Linked DNA regions of Homo sapiens: region 1 is linked to region 2. Evidence: promoter capture Hi-C in 16 types of primary human blood cells and fetal thymus (Javierre and others, 2016). All regions are on one chromosome and are shown on one strand. Each heading gives the region's core, a stretch centred on a gene start or on the middle of the fragment in contact. The rest is flanking DNA. Distances are from core to core; before and after follow the strand shown.

What was found. Contacts are between HindIII fragments. The CHiCAGO score rates a contact against its expected background, and 5 or more counts as called.
Region 1: the fragment with the promoter of CTBP1 here is called in contact with the fragment with the promoter of NSD2 in region 2 in 1 of 17 cell types (naive CD4 T cells); the score reaches 5.2 in naive CD4 T cells.

What each region holds. Positions count from the first base shown.
Region 1 is chr4:1,245,854-1,250,379 of GRCh38, forward strand. CTBP1 (C-terminal binding protein 1) reads right to left here and starts at 3,277. Exons shown (of 10, transcript NM_001012614.2): 1 at 3,063-3,277. It overlaps CTBP1-DT (CTBP1 divergent transcript), which reads left to right and starts at 3,587. Exons shown (of 2, transcript NR_033339.1): 1 at 3,587-3,619; 2 at 4,258-4,526. RefSeq lists silencers at 2,166-2,885, 3,056-3,985 and enhancers at 4,356-4,405, 4,466-4,526. The HindIII fragment of the contact is 9,350 bases long and covers 1-4,526 here.
Region 2 is chr4:1,868,811-1,873,720 of GRCh38, forward strand. It overlaps NSD2 (nuclear receptor binding SET domain protein 2), which reads left to right and starts at 2,583. Exons shown (of 22, transcript NM_001042424.3): 1 at 2,583-2,732. It also overlaps the pseudogene RN7SL671P. RefSeq lists an enhancer at 1,512-2,013 and silencers at 1,747-2,006, 2,037-2,266, 2,317-3,016. The HindIII fragment of the contact is 4,701 bases long and covers 1-4,398 here.

The sequences.
Region 1 (4,526 bases), core at 2,027-4,526, 620 kb before region 2:
TCTCAGGGCCATAGCCCCAACGCCTCCCCAACCAAACCAACTGGGCTTCCCTCAGGGCCATCCTCACTCTCCTTCAACACCCGTGAGAACTGGTACCACCTGGGGCCGCCCAGAGAGACAACTCAAGGTTAACGTTTGGCTCGGCAAAGAGCCACCAAGAAATTTCTGGCTTCACAGGGAAAAAAACGAACATTTCCTTGTGGGAGATACCACATGGAATGTGTGGCCGGAGGGGCTTCTGGAAACGATGGTCAGTGACGCAGGTGGCACCTTGTGGGTTACCACGACCCAGTGCGGGGGAGAGCAGTGGGCTCCGGCCACTGCAGCTGACAATGGAGGACCCGGGGGTCCAGACACTCCCGGCACAGAGCTCTTACCCACAACTACCAACATCCAGCGACCACCAGAGGACCCTGGCGCTCCACCCGGCGCTCCGACCAGCGTTCCCTTGGGCGATGCAGTTCAACCACAGAACCCGTATGACACTGCCTGCTGCCTCTACCACCTCCTGGCCACCCCTGGGCCCTGGGCCAGGCCTGCACCGTCAGCACCACCTGGATGGAGCCCTCTCCAGCCCCCAGTGGAGTGGGAAACATTAAGTCCTTCTACAAGGAGAGTCAACCGGGGTAAACACCTCACAGGGCACACACCTTTGACTTGGGCACTGCATGGGGAGCACCAGGGCACAGCCGGGCACAAAGTGCTGCCTGAAGAGTTCTCAGCAACACTAGTGGTGCCAGCCACACGCCTCTTGGCTCAGTGACACCACCGTCAGCTCAGACCAGGTCACATTCTGGGGGTACTGGCCGCAGGAAGTTGAGAGGGCAAGTGACAGTCAGAGGAGAAAAACCAGAAAAACTGCCAGGCTGGTGGGGAACCAGGTGTGGCTTGACGGCCACCTCTAAGCCCCGAGGGAAGAGACTGGGCCTCTCGAGCCTGGGGCCCGTTTCCTGGAGAGCATGACTACTTCTGTCCAGGGTTCCTCCAGAAAAAATTTATTAACAGAATGATGGTTAACAGTTGCTGTCTGCTTACACTACAAATGTCCAAAGAGTGGGGGGCTCCCAGCCCTTGGGGGAGGCAGACAGGACGAGCCAGCACTTCCAATCCCACCAGGACATGGCAGGGGGCCGGCTCTGCGCCAAGCCCACAGGACTGGACCAAGGCTCGTCCCACTCATCAGAGGGACAGGACCAGCCCACAGTCCTGTGCACCCCGGGCCAAGCCTCTCCTCCCCCACTGCCACGTTCTCAGGTTAATGACAAGCGAGTAAAAGGGAAGATCCTACTCGCTGACATCCCCAACCACACGCCCACCTCTCAGAACTAACAGCTGCCCTGGTCAAGGCTGACAGGAAGAAGTGCATGTTGGGGACATGGCAGACACCCCAAAAATGGCCGGGCAGGCGGACGAGGCACCCCCAGGAGTGACCAGATGCCACCCCCAGTGCGTGTCCCTCCCAGAGCTCTGCAGAGGACGCCTGTATGGAAGCAGGTGCTCAAAGATGGGCAACAGAATCACAGAGAGCAAAAGGCGTCTGCGGAGCCGACAGCCCCAACCAGGAGCCAAACCCAGACCCCAGAGGGAGGTGGCCAGGCCCGGGCAGGCAGGGGAGACCTGGGAGGCCGGGTGCTGAGGCCCAGGGCAGAGCCACGCCCTACAAAGTTCCAGGACACAGAAAGGGGGACCCCCAAACCGCAGCTGTCATCCTCAGCTGCAACGGCAAATAGTTACCCCACGGTTCTCCCCCAACCCTGCCCCAAGCTGCAGACGGGTACACAGACGCGCAAAGGCCACGCGCTAGGAGCTCAGCGAGGACGGCCGCGGTGCGGGCCCAGCCGCCAGCGCCGTTTTCTTCCCGAGGGACGTGTGCTCCCTGCCGCGCTCCTACAGAAACGGTGGAGAGGCCGGGGAGGGGGGGGGGGCTCGGGCTCAACGGAACACCCTGCGCACCCGCCGCCTCGGCCCTAGCTCCAGGCCCTCTTGCCCCAACTCTCAGGGTTTCACCTCCCCACTCAGGGCACCGGGAAGGGCGCGACCGCCTTCCCTTTTCCCCACTGGAAGGGAATTCTGTCCCGGCAATCACGGAGACGACAGCAAAAGGGATCTGGCCCAGGCCGGGCTTCCAGACACCGGCGCCCTTGGAGGCCGCCAGAGAACGCTCCAGTCTCGGCCCGGGGCTCAGGCGCACGGACTCTGCCTTTGCAGCCGGGTCGAGGGAAAGAGAGGCTCCGCGCAGCGGCTCGGGCCGGCCCAGGACGCGGGCGCTGCAAGATGGCGATGGTGGCAAGCCCGGCGCCCGCCCGTGCTCCCTGCTTCCGCGGCCGCAGCCCGCGAGGAAGGCGCCCCGGGACCTGGGCGGGCCCAGGCAAGGGCAGGTGGGGGCGCTGGGCCGGTCCGGGACCTCGCGGAGTTCGCGGGAACGGAGACCCCGGGCCCTCCCGCGTCACCGCCGGGGGCTGCGCTTTGGGCCCGGTCTGAGGGCAGCGGCCTCCTCCACGGTCATACCCGGCACCCGCGCCCCGTCCCCTTCCCCCACAGCGCGCGGCCACGGTCGCCGGCGGCCTCCCCGCGGGAGGCGCGCTCCCGCGAGTGGCCCGGGAGCGCGCGCCCCAGGACACCCCGAGCTGCGCACGGCTCCCGCCCCATCCCGGCCCCGCAGGCCCAGCCACGGGGTCATGACCGGGGACGGGGTAGCGGCCGGGGATCGGGACCCGGGGTGCCGTCCCGGGTCCGACGGGGCTGGGGTCGGTGGAGCTGGGGGTCCGGCGGGGCAGCCCAGAGGCCCACAGGCCCTTTTGTGTCACCTGCACGGGCCGCGGGCGGGGAGAGCAGACTGCGGCGCTCGCGCACACGCAGCGGCCCGCGCATGCGCAAGACCCTTCCCGCGGTCCCGCCCCCGACCGCGGCCACGCGCGGACGCCGGCGCGCACGCGCACTCGCACACAAAGCCGGCGGCCCGCGGGCGCGCGCTCGGTCCGCCCCCGCGCCCCCCGCCCGCGCGGCACCCGCCCCGCCCCGCCCCCGCCCGCGGCCGGAAACGCGCGCGCGCGCGGCCTTACCAAGCGGCAGGCCCTTGTTGAGCAAGTGCGAGCTGCCCATCGAGAGGCGCGAGCGGCCGCGGGCCCCGACCACTCCGGCGCGCTGCGCCGCCGCGAGCCCGGCGCGTGGGGCGGCCTCGGCGCCGTCCGCTGCTCCGCCCGCCCGCCTGCGCCTGGCCGCCGCCGTGCCGAGTCTCCGCCGCGCCGCTGAGCCGCGCTCCGACGACCGCGCGGGCGGGGACACGGCGGCGCGCGCGGGCGGGGCCTCGCGGTTGGTCTCCTGGTTCCCAGCGCGGGCGGCGCACGGACTCACGCGGGCGGCTCAGGGCCCGCCCGGCCGGGACGCGGCTGCGGGGCGGGGCGGGGCGGGAGCCTGGCGGGAAGCTCGCGGGGCTGCAGCCCGGCGGAGGCCCCGGGCCTGGTGTTCCGCACGTTCTAAACCGCCTGTCCCCGAGGAAGTCGGGCAGGGTCGGGCCGGACTCAGCGCCGCTGGCGGGAGCGCCGTCCGCCCCGAGGACCCTGCGGGCCCGGAAGCCGAGACAGGGCCGCCCACGTCAGCGCCTGGCGCGGGCCCGAACGTAAATGGCGCTCCTCCGCGCCGCAGCCGCAGCCGCCCCGCTCCCTTCCCGCTCCGCCAGCTGCCGCCCTCCCGCGCTCGCTTCTCGCCCCGCGGCCTGGCCCGTGCGCCTCCGAGGCTGGCCAGGGGCACCGAGGCCGCGGGCCCCCCATCGCCCCCACCCGAGCCCTGATTTACCGTCCGAGAGCCGGCGGCACATGGGACCCCGAGAGGAGAAGCGCGCCTGCCCCAGTGCGTCCCCAGGCGGGGGAGCCCCGACTCCTGGAGGGACCGCGTCCTGCCCGGCCCGGGAAGTTCAGGGCTGGAGAACCCCTTCCCCGACCCCATTTCTCTTTTAACAAGAGTAGGGTTTGTAGCTAACCAACGTCCTGACAGCTCAGCTCTGCTTTCCCTTTAAGCATTAATATCAAAGCCCTGCCTGCTACCGGTGAAGCCCCGACCCGGGAGGGCCCGAAAGTCCCTTCAGGGAGAGGCCGCACTGGGCCTGCTCACCCAGGGGCTGCCCCTGCAGACTCTCCCGAGGGGCCCAGGGATATTCCTCGCGCCGCGAGTGGACGCTTCCATCCACCCCATGGGGAGGGCCTCTGCGCGTGGCTACTCTGAGCCCTCTGGAATGCCGAGATAGTTGCATAATTTCAGAAACCACGGCATGGAGACGGAATGATGCAGACTCCTATCCGCGAGATACCTGCTGTAATTTCGCTGTGGTTCGTGAGGACGCGTCCTGGGCTGCCCTGAGAAGCCTACGTCTCCCCTTCGAGGCCCGGGAAGACCTCCAACCCCGCTGACAATGCTGGGCCCTCAGCCAGACCTGCCCTGCGTGCCACGTTCTGTTCTAAGATCGGGCTGCCGAGCTGTGGCCTGGAGGAAACCTGGCAGGTGTCACCAGAGCTTTGGGGAGGGTGAGG
Region 2 (4,910 bases), core at 1,333-3,832:
CAATCACAGCTTGCTGTAGCCTCATGTAACTCTTGGGCTCAGGAGATCCTTCTGTCTCAGCCTCCTGAGTAGCTGAGACTACAGGCATGCACCACCATGCCCAGCTGTTTTTTTATTTTTTTGTAGAGATAGGATTTCAATGTTGATCAGGCTGGTTTCAAACTCCTAGCCTTAAGGGATCCTCCTGCCTTGGCCTCCCAAAATGCTGGGATTACAGGTGTAAGCCACTGCCTTTTTGTCCACTTTTTAAGACGAGGTCTTGCTATGTTGTCCTGGCTGAAGCGCAGTGGCTATTCACAGGTGCAGTCCCACTACTGATCAGCATGGGAGTTTTGACCTGCTCTGTTTCTGACCTGGGCTGGCTCCCCCCTCCTCAGGCAACCTGGTGGTTCCCAGCTCCTGGGAAGTCACCATACTGATGGCAAACTTAGTGCAGACACCTGACTGGCATAGCCCAGAACTAAATGATCCACCTGCCTCGGATTTCCAAATAACTAGAACTACAGGTGTGAGCCACTGTGCCTGGCTTATTCACTTTTTGTTATTTTTTATTTTTTGAGACAGTCTTGCTCTGTCACCCAGGCTAGAGTGCAGTGGCATGATCTCGGCTCACTGCAACCTCCACTTCCCGGGTTCAAGTGATTCTCCTGCCTCAGCCTCCTGAATAGTTGCGATTACAGATGCCCGTCACTATGCCTGGCTAATTTTTGTATTTTTTTTTAGTAGAGACGGGGTTTCACCATGTTAGCCAGGCTGGTCTCGAACTCCTGACCTCAGGCGATCCACCTGTCTCGGCCTTCCAAAGTGCTTGTATTAAAGGTGTGAGCCACCATGCCTGGCACTGGCCGTAATTTTAAAAATTCATTTATTTGTTTGGTGATAGAGACGAGGTCTTGCTATGTTGCCCAGTCTGGTCTCCAACTCCTGGGCTCAAGCAATCCTTTCACTTTGGCCTCCCACAGTGCTGGCTCACACTTCTCACAGGTGTGAGCCACTGGCCTTGGCTCCATTTTGAATTAATTTTTGTTAAGGGTGTAAAGTCTGTGTCTAGCCTGATTTTTTTTTGCATGTGGACATCCAGTTGTTCCAGCACCATTTGTCGAAAAGACTGTCTTTTCTCCATTCCATTTCCTAGAGTCAAGCTCAGCTGACTCCATTATGTGGTCTATATCCGGGTTCTCTATTCTGTTCATGGATCTATTTGTGTATTTTTCCACCAGTACCACAATGTCTCAATTACTGTAGCCTTATAGTAAGTCTTGCAGCAACCCTTGTTTTTTTGGGGGGGCCACAACTCAACCCATACAGGGGCCCAGCACCTGTGAAGGGACAGCAGCGGAGGCGGCGCGGGAGAGGAAGAGGAGGTGAACTGTGGCCACTCCTTGGTGGCTGGAGGTGGGTCCGGGGAGGCAGGACCTGGGCTGAGGTGTCGTTCTATAGCCCGGGTAGCGCACTTTCACAAAGCTCTCCTTGACCAAACTCTCGCCAGGCTCCCCTGGGCCCGCTTCTCAGCGAGGGCTCAAGCTGGGCCTGTAAAGCTCGAGCAGACACTAAGGCTCAAGGCCGAAGGTGTTCCCGGCTCCCTGAACCTGCGTGACAGAAAACCCAAGGCCGCCGGCTCCGGCAGCACCTGGAGGCAGGAGCCGAACTTCCATGGGCGGCGGGCAGCAAATCACACCGGCTTCAACCGCCCGGCCCGCCCACTTTTTGCAGCGTCTGACTTCCCCGCTCGCCCGCGCCGCTTCCTCCTCCTCCCTGTGCCGCACGCAGTCGCCCGCGCCACCCCCTGAAGCCCGGCTCTACCGCAGCGGCGCTGGGGTAGCGCCCCTGGACCAGGCGTCCTCCCCTCGCGAGCGGTCCTCCCGCAGCCGCGCCCAGCTCCGGGTCGGACCCTCGCCCGGGGGACTCGTTCACGCCCTGCGGCCGTTAGGCGGGAAGAGCACGACGCCCTGCCCTGCCCCGTCGTGGCGTCTGACCCTCTCCGCCACGTCTGTTCTGAGGCTCCGGGCCCGCCACGGCGGGGCCTCTGCGGCGGTTTCCCCACCCGTCCCCGCACTGCCGCTCCGCGAGGCGGACGCCGCTAGCAGCCTCCCGCGGGCCCCAGGCCCCGCGCCCCTCTCACGGGACAGGAGCTTGGGGACCCGCGCGGGCGGGCCGCGCGCCCAACGCCAGCCTCCGCGGCCGCGCGCCCACGGCTCGGGGGCGCCGGCTCCGGACGGTGATTGGGCGCGGATCGTGACGTCACTGAGCGCGGCGCCCGCGGGCGCCGGGTCTGGGCCGGGTGCGCGCCGCCGAGTAGCGGGAGCAGGGCGCGCGCCCGGCGCTACTCTGAGGCGGCTCGCGGGGCCCGCGGCCCGGCCCTCCCGGCGCTGCCAGCCCCGCCCGCCCGCGCGGCCCCCACCCGCCGCGTGCCTGCCCGCCCCGCCCGTGCGCGGCCCCGGCGCGGATTTGAAAAGCCCGGTCCGCGGGCCCCGCGAGCGCGGCAGCCAATCAGCGGCGCGCACTTTTCCCGCGGCTTCTGCGAGGCGGCGGCGGCCCCGGCTGCGGCGGCGGCGGCGGGCGGGAGGCGCGGGGGCGGGGTCGGCGCCGCGCGCGAGAGCCTCGGCCTGGCCGCGCTGCGCCCGCCGCCGCCGCCGCCCCCTCCCCGCCTGGGCCCTACCGCCGCACGGCCCCGGCCCCCTCCCAGCCTGCCGCTCCGGAGAGCCGCCCGCCGAGGATGCGACGCACCGCAGGTCACTGGGGCGCCCGCCCAACAGTCGCGGGCCGCCAACCGCCGGGGCTGGGGCCGGGAGGCCGGGCTGTGGGAGGCCTGAGGGGCGGCGGGGAGGACCGCGGAGGCCTGAGGGGGCGGGAGCGCCGGGAGGAGTGGGGGCACTGAGGAGGCCTGAGGGGCCGGCTCAGGGGCTGGGGGACCGGGAGGCCGGGCGGCCTGAGAGGGTCGTGGGGACCGCGAGGACCGCGGAGGCCTGAGGGCCGGCGGGAGGACCGGGCGGACCGCGGAGGCCGGGACGAGTCCGGGCAGGGGAGGGGCGGCGGCCTGCGGGCGGCGGCGGCTAACGGGGCCGGGCGGGCGGGCGCGGCCATGTTGGGCCCGGCCGGGCCCTGCGGCTGCACCTGTGCCCGGCCCGGCCGAGGCGGCCGCCTTTGTTCCCGCGGCGCCGAGCGGGTCGGGCCGGCCTTTGTGCGGCGCCCCCGGTCCGGGGCGGCCGCGGTGGGAGGGGCAGGTTGGGGTCCCGGGGCCGGCGCCGGGGCCAGGGGTCGGGCCGAGGGTCGCTTTTTGTTTGCAGGCGGTGTCTGGCGTTGACACTCGCGGCGCCCGGGCGTTGGTCAGCGCGGACGCTCCCCCGGGAAGCCGGGCCGCGGTCCGGCCCTTGGCAGGTGGAGGCGGGGGTGAGCCGGGTGTGGGTACCCTGCTGGGGGGCTGCGCGCCCTCGGCGTCCGGGCCTCCGCCTGGGATGTTCCCCTCGCCCCAGGATGCAGATTGATAGTCCTTGAAGCCTCAGTGCATGAGATGGGACCTGGCGACTTAATGGCTGGTTTTGCTCCACTCACAGGAACCGTGGTTTAAAATCTCGGCGTTTAAAAAATGCTGGTCTTAAGTTTCGGTAGAAATAAAATGGATGAGGGTATTGTATAGGACCCATTGCAGCACGAATCTTTCTGTGCCCACGATGGGCTTTGACATTCAAGTGGAAACATAGTATCAAAACTGATGTGGTGACGTTAATCGTTTTTAGGTAGATAACGTGTATTTTGTGTGTGTGTGTGTGTGTGTGTGTGTGAGAGAGAGAGAGAGAGAGAGAGAGAGAGAGAGAGAGAGAGAGAGCGCGCAGACCCTGTGAAGACAAGACTAATTGGATAAAGTTCAGGCCTGGCTCAGGAGCAGCTCTTCAGTGCTACCCACCTGCTTCACAGACTTTCAAGCCTTGATTTTTAAATGAGTTAAACGCCAGCATCACGCATGGGTTATATTCACTCTATTTTGTGTATTTCAAATATCAACGTGGAAAATAACTTAGGAGCCATCCCATTTATGAACTTGGGACTTAAACTTTTTAATTTTCCCAAAATGTTTTAAGTGCCCTAGTTACGTATTTAAATGTGATGAGAACAACAATATTTTAAAGAGCAGAACGCCAACAACATAAAGCAAACAAGTTCTGTGAGCACAGCCTTTCCTTGTGTACTTGATGTGTGCTCTCATTCCCCACAACTGATGGTGGTTCAAATCTAAACTGCCAAATGGAGATGAAGAGGACTCATGCTTTAAGCACGATTACTTTGAGTCATTTCCTTTTCTTTCCTTCCATTTTCTCAGCCACCCAAACCCAGCAACCTTCAGTTTTGGGCTGATGGTTGGTAGAGTGAGGACTTACTGCACAATTTTGAGTTTGTGTAAGCTTTTGTGAAGAGCTCTGATCTCAGTACAAAAATTGTCCTCTCCTGACTGCATTAATACCAGAGTCTGGCCTCTGATTATAACAGTAAAGATTTTATTTTAAGAGTATGAGGTAATTAACTGAGAATTTGAAAGAATGATGGACAATTTATCGTATCTATTCGTATGTAACATATAAACTAATATAACTTTTGGAGCCATGCACAACAAAATTATAAGGTCAGCAGGCTGCAGGTGCGACTTGCTTTGTTTCTATGCAATCAGCTTATCCAGGGCTTTCAAACCAGTACTTGCTGAAGTGTGCGGACCCAAATGAAGCATTAAGCAGAGTCCTAGAATGAGTCAGGAAGATAATCTGAATAGGTAGAAGACAACCCACTCCTCCTAATCCTGTGGGGCTTACATGGGTACAGCCTTCTGCCTATTCAGATTATCTTCTCCTTCTAAAAGTAATCAAATCTTACAAAGTTTACTCACATGGCAGAATGTGAACTTTTTTTGTTTGAAGATT